Linked DNA regions of Homo sapiens: region 1 is linked to region 2. The links are contacts of gene promoters, found by promoter capture Hi-C in human tissues and cell types (Jung and others, 2019). All regions are on one chromosome and are shown on one strand. The core of a region is centred on a gene start or on the middle of the fragment in contact, and the rest is flanking DNA. Distances in the headings are between cores, read along the strand shown. Region 1 holds the start of RFXANK (regulatory factor X associated ankyrin containing protein). Region 2 holds the start of FKBP8 (FKBP prolyl isomerase 8).

Region 1 (2,761 bases), core at 12-2,511, 650 kb before region 2:
TGAACTCGGGAGGTGGAGGTTGCGGTGAGCAGAGATCGCACCACTGCACTGTAGCTGGGGCGACAGAGCAAGACTCTGTCTCAAAAAAAAAAAAAAAAAAAAAAAAGAAAGGAAAAAAAAGCCGGGGCTCTGGGGTCAGCTGTCTGGGTTCGAATCCCTCAATTTATAGGCCGTGAGAACTTGGGCACGTGACTTAACCTTTGAGCCTCAGTTTCCTCCACGACAAAATGTGGAAATGAGACCTACAACGAATTATGTCTGTACATAGCTTATCGGGGGATCTGCTAAGCGTGGAGCTCAATAAATATTCGCTATGGTTGTTGGGAGGGGCTCCCCATAATGAGTGACGGCTCAACAAAGGTGCGATTGGTCCCAGTCCCACCCGAGCCTCCTAAATCGATCCAGGAGGTCCACTCACCTCCCCACGAGCCTCCTCTGTCCCCCCGCGCCGAAAGCCCAGTTCTCTCAAAACTTGGGGGCCCAAGTCACAAACTTTTCTCTTCCAATGGATATAGCAGGAGGCAAACTGGAGACCGGACCCTCAGCGATCTGGCTTCCTCTGCCGGGACAGAAAGCAACTTGATACTCGACCGCTACCCCCACCCCAGAGCTCCCCCACTGCGCTTGCGCACCCCCGCCCCCCAAAAGTGAGGAAGGGCCCGGGCAGTAAGTGCTGCCTCTGGCCCTTTAAGACTTAGGGGAGGGCGTGGGTTCCGCTGGGGTCCTGGGAGGGCAGTTGCGCCTGCGCCTTCTTTTCCCCTCCTCACCGACTCGGAGGGAATGGGCGGGGCCTAAAGGGCTCTGAGAATTTCACTACGCCTGCGCCCGCTCACCTTTACCCTGCCCACAGATTTTTCCAGAGGGAGCCAATTGGCTCCGGCTTCGGGTAGATGGGCGGGGCTATCTCAAGAAGAAGAAGTAGGGGAAGTACGCGGGGCGTCTGGAACTTAAAGGGGCAGCGTACCTTGGCCGTCCCGTTCCACAACAAGGTCCCTTCTGCGGTCTCAAAGGCTTATAAGCAAGGGCGGGGGCAGAGGGCTAAAGAAGGGAGTTTTTGCGGCCCGAGTGGGTAATGCGTGGAGGACTCCCCCAACTCGTCTCTCAAGGAAAAGGGGGTTCAGAAAGGGAGAGAGTTCTTCCCCCTCTCCTGCCTGGGTGTCGCTCCACCAGCCTCCTGGCCGTCGCGCCCCCTCCTCACTGCGCCACCCCCGGGTGTGCCTCCTTCCCTGCGTCTCACACAGCCCCTTTCTTGTCCGCAAAGACTGAGGAGCGGGGAGGGCGGGCCCTCTGACACCGGAACAGGAGCCGTGCGGCGTCCGGTTTCAGCAGGGAAGGCTTAGGCGGGCGTCCCAACCTCCGGGCTTCCGGTGCCGTTTCCCGGTTCGCTCGGCCGCGGTCGCTATGGAGGAGCCGGAGATGCAGCTCAAGGGGAAGAAAGGTGGTGCGGGCCTGCGGGCGGGACAGAGGGGGCCGGTAACTTGTGGAGGGGCGGCCTGACAAAGGCCGGGCGCGGAGGGACCGTGCGAGGAGCAGTGATTGAACTGCCGTCCAATCCCAGCTCTGCCGCTGACTAGTTTTGAAACCTGTAGAAAGGCTCCGTGTCTGCTTTAATTACCGGTCCCCCCAGGATTGTTTCAAGAATTCAGTAGCTGAGGCTGGGAGTGGTGGCTTTGTAATCCCAGCACTTTGGGAGGCCTAGGCGGGAGGATCGCTTGAGCCCGAGACCAGCCTAGGTGACATAGTGAGATCTCGTCTCTAAAAAAATACAAAAATTAGCCGGGCGTGGTGGCGCACGCCTGTGGTCCCAGCTACTTGGGCGGCTAAGGTGGGAGGATTGCTTGAGCCCGGGAGGTCAAGGCTGCACTGCAGTGGGCTACGGTCGTGCCACTGCACCCCCAGCCTGGGTGACAAGTGAGACCCTGTCTAAAAAAAAAAAACTCAACAACCTGATATTTGTAATGCATTGGAAGAATCCCCGGGGCGTAGTAATCGCTGTGCGTCTTGTTTCCTTTTTTTTTTTTTTTTTTGAGACAAGGTATCACACTGTCGCCCAGGCTGGGGTGCGGTGGCGCGATCATGGCTCACTGTAGCCTCGATCTCTCTGGCGCGGGCGATCCTCTTGCCTCAGCTTCTCCAGTAGCTGGGACTACAAGTGCACACCACCACATCAGGCTAATTCTTTAATTTTTTTTTTTTTTGACGGAGTCTCGCTCTGTCACCCAGGCTGGAGTGCCGTGGGGGGATCTCAGCTCACTGCAACCTCAGCCCCCTGAGTAGCTAGGATTACAGGCACACACCCCCATGCCCAGCTAATTTTTTTGTATTTTTAGTAGAGACGGGGTTTCACCTTGTTGCTCAGGCTAGTCTCGAACTCCTGACCTCGAGTGATCCACCCACCTTGGCCTCCCAAAGTGCTGGGATTACAGGTGTGAACCACTGCACCCAGCTAATCCCCTATACTTTAAATCACCCTAGATTACTCACATCTAGAATACATAATACAGGCCTACACATCACTTCATTCACATGGATTCAAAGAAGTGCTTCGTGTAGGGCAGATTGAAGTTTTGCTTTTTGAAACTTTGTGGAATTTTTTTTTTCCTATTTTCCATCCACGGTTGGTTGAATCCACAGATTCGGGAACCATGGATAACGGAGGGCATGAGTATGAGGCATGAGCCACCGTGCCTTGTCTGTTATGCTCACCTTTCTTCTTCTTTTTTTTTATTTGAGACGGAGTTTTGCTCTTGTTGCCAAGGCT
Region 2 (3,091 bases), core at 592-3,091:
TTGCAGTGATCTGAGATCGTGCCACTGCACTCCAGCCTGGGTTTCAAAGTAAGACCCTATCTCAAAAAAAAAAAGGCAGAGATATAAGTAAACTAGTTTGGGAAGCCGAGGCAGGCAGATCATGAGGTCAGGAGTTCCAGACCATCCTGGCCAACATGGTGAAACCCTGTCTCTACTAAAAATATACAAATTAGCTGGGCATGGTGGCGGGTGCCTGTAGTCCCAGCTACTCAGGAGGCTGAAGCAGGAGAATCGTTGGAACTTAGGAGGTGGATGTTGCAGTGAGCCGAGATCGCGCCACTGCACTCCAGCCTGGCGACAGAGAGAGACTCTGTCTCAAAAAAAAAAGAGAAAGAAAAAAAAAAAAAAGGCCAGGCACGATGGCTCATGCCTGTAATCTTTGGTACATCGAGGTGGGCGGATCACGTGAGGTCGGGAGTTTGAGACCAGCCTGACCAACATGAAGAAATCCCGTGTCTACTAAAAATACAAAGTTAGCCAGGCATGGTGGTGCATGCCTCTACTCCCAGCTACTTGGAAGGCTGAGGCAGGAGAATCGCTTGAACCTGGGAGGCAGCGGTTGCGGTGAGCTGAGATTGCGCCATTGCACTCCAGCTTGGGCAACAAGAGTGAAACTTCTTCTCAAAAAACAAAAACAAACAAACAAACAAAAAACCCAAGTAAACTAGTTATGAAGTGGACGTTCATCAACTTCATTGTGCCAAGACAGCTAAAGGGGGCACCTGGTCTTGCCTTGGGGAGGTTGGGAGGGCTTCCTGTAGGAGGTAACCTGGGAACTCCAACCTTAGAAGTGATCTCCAAAAAGCCAGTTACCACCTCCATGATAGCTACCTCCAAAAGCTGGTGTCTGACTCATCCATCCATCCATCCATCCATCCATCCATCCATCCATCCACCTACCCATTTATTGAGCTTCTATAGATGCCAGGCATGGTTCAAGGAGGTGCTGGGTACAAATCAGGTAAAAATCTCTGCCAGGATGAAGCAGAGTGAGGGATGGTCCCTCCAACCACAAGCAAAATAATGACAAGATAATTCTGGAAGGAGTAACTGCTAGGAAGGAAATAAAACTGAGTGAAGGAGGGAGAAGTGTCCCGGTTTCAAAACAAGATCCACAAAAACTTAGCTAATCAAGGATGCCACCTTCTTCCCGAGCCATGGGGACCTTATCACCCTCCAGCAGACAGTGCATAGAGGAGGAACTCCTCCCAGTGGCCCTGCTGGCTCAGTCGCCTGCGCAGCAGTAATCGAGCGCCTCCAGTATGCACCAGGCAACCTTCTAGACATTAAACTGTGTGGGGGATGGGAGGGAGGTTTCTGTATGCCTTTGGGCACGTCACTCCTCCTCAGGCCCTCAGGTTCACTTCTGTAACTAAGGCTTCAGGATGGGTCATTCAGCAACCCCAGAGCTGCCCTGCCCGTCAAGCTTGAACTCTTTAAGGAAATAACATTTAGAGTGGACTGTGCCCCCAGCAGCCCCCAAGGTGAGAGTGCATAGATGGGGGTGTTTATCCCCATTTCGCAGATGGTCAGGATGAAGCTCAGAGGAGAGGCAGGAGTCGCACAGGCTGCGCGATACTGACCCGTGTTGGGGTCCAGCCCAGGGTCCCCCGCCCCCGCCCCAGCCCCCGCCCCAGCCCCCGCCCCAGCCCCCGCCCCAGCCCCAGCAGCCGGGAGGCTTCGGTCCCTTTAAGAACGCCCCGCGGGGCCAAGCAGGAAGGGGGAGGTGCCAACGCCCGGGACGGACGTCTGCATGAGCCAACGGGTGCGGCAGTCGCGGCAGCGGCGGCCAATGGGCACGGCAGGGGCGGGGCCAAGCGGCCGAACCTGGTTCCCGAGGCGCGGCGGCCGCGGCTGGGGGCGGGGAGGGGGGCGCAGGACCCCAAGTGGGGGTCCCGGAGCCAGAGGCAAGTGTCCTGGGGTGCTGGGGGCGCCGTGCCGGCCGGGCCGCTGCCCTGGCCTAGGCTGGTCCGGGGGCTAGCGCGCCGGGGGCTGCGGCCGATGGGCGGGGCGAGGGGCCGCGGGGGTGGCGAGCCGGGGGGGCACGGGGGTCGGGGGTGCCCGAGGGGGCGCGGCCGGGCGGGGGTGGCCAGGGATGGGGGTCACTGGGGGCAAAGGGGATCCAGTGGGGGGGTCCCGATGGAGGCGTGCAGGGCCAGGGGCGCCCGAGGCGTGCGGGGGTCGGGTGCCCCAGACTGGTGGCGTCAGACAGGCGTGGGTCGTTGGGGGCCTGGGTCGCGGCTTGACTGAGGGCCCGGCCGGGGCTGTGGGGCGTCAGGAGAGCGTGGGGTGTTATGGGATCGGAAAGGGGGGGGCGTCTGGGGACACTGGAGTGTTTACGGCGAGACGGAGCGGCTGTGGGGGGAGCTGGCCCGTGCTGGGGGCGGTGGTGGTTGGGGTGGGGGGTGGGAGGGGAGGCCGAATTGTGCGGGCGCGGGGAATTATGGGGGTGGGGGCTGGGAGGGTCTCTCAAAGTGGGGCTCCGAGCCCGGGAGGAGCAGGCAGGTGAGGGTTAGGGAGGGGATGCGGCGGGCTGGTTTGATGGCTGTGCCACACTCTTCTGAGCTTGGGGCCTGGGGGACGGAGGGGTTGGTTATTGGTTCAGGAGGTCTGGGGCAAGGAAGAGGCTGTAGAATGTGGTGGGACCTCGACCACTCCTGGAAAGGAGGCTGCTTTGAGGGGGTGGGACCGAGGCCTGATGAGAGGAGGATGGTCTCCTGGGGAAGGATTTGGGCCAGGGTCCCTGATGTTGGGGTTGTGGGGGATAGTGTTAGATTCAGAGTGTGGAAGGAAAAAACGCTTGGGGTTTCTGGGTGATTACAGTTGGTGCTTTTGGGGAGGGTCTCCCCTTTGGAGAAGAGGCTGGAGGTGGGAGGCCCTGGTAAAAGATTCAATTTCCCCCAGTGGCCTTAGAGGCTCTAAAAATGGCTTCCCTAAGGCCTCGGAGGCTGTCCTCTCCACAAAAATCCCAGCACCCTTCGCTCAGCTTATAATCAGGCAAAGCCACAGGGCCTGAAGCCCCAGGTTCAAATCCTCCTTTGGCCTTTGGCTTTCTCTGTGACCTTGGGCA

Evidence for each region. Contacts are between HindIII fragments. The study calls those that stand out against the background at their distance.
Region 1: the fragment with the promoter of RFXANK here is called in contact with the fragment with the promoter of FKBP8 in region 2 in 1 of the 25 tissues and cell types used here (lymphoblastoid cells).

Annotation. Positions count from the first base shown.
Region 1 is chr19:19,190,758-19,193,518 of GRCh38, reverse strand. RFXANK (regulatory factor X associated ankyrin containing protein) reads right to left here and starts at 1,261. Exons shown (of 10, transcript NM_003721.4): 1 at 965-1,261; 2 at 419-559. BORCS8-MEF2B (BORCS8-MEF2B readthrough) reads left to right here and starts at 1,367. Exons shown (of 12, transcript NR_027308.2): 1 at 1,367-1,438. It overlaps BORCS8 (BLOC-1 related complex subunit 8), which reads left to right and starts at 1,367. Exons shown (of 6, transcript NM_001145784.2): 1 at 1,367-1,438. The coding sequence starts at 1,402. RefSeq lists an enhancer at 395-484. The HindIII fragment of the contact is 21,341 bases long and covers 1-2,761 here.
Region 2 is chr19:18,542,323-18,545,413 of GRCh38, reverse strand. FKBP8 (FKBP prolyl isomerase 8) reads left to right here and starts at 1,841. Exons shown (of 9, transcript NM_012181.5): 1 at 1,841-1,928. RefSeq lists a silencer at 1,596-2,025. The HindIII fragment of the contact is 12,332 bases long and covers 1-3,091 here.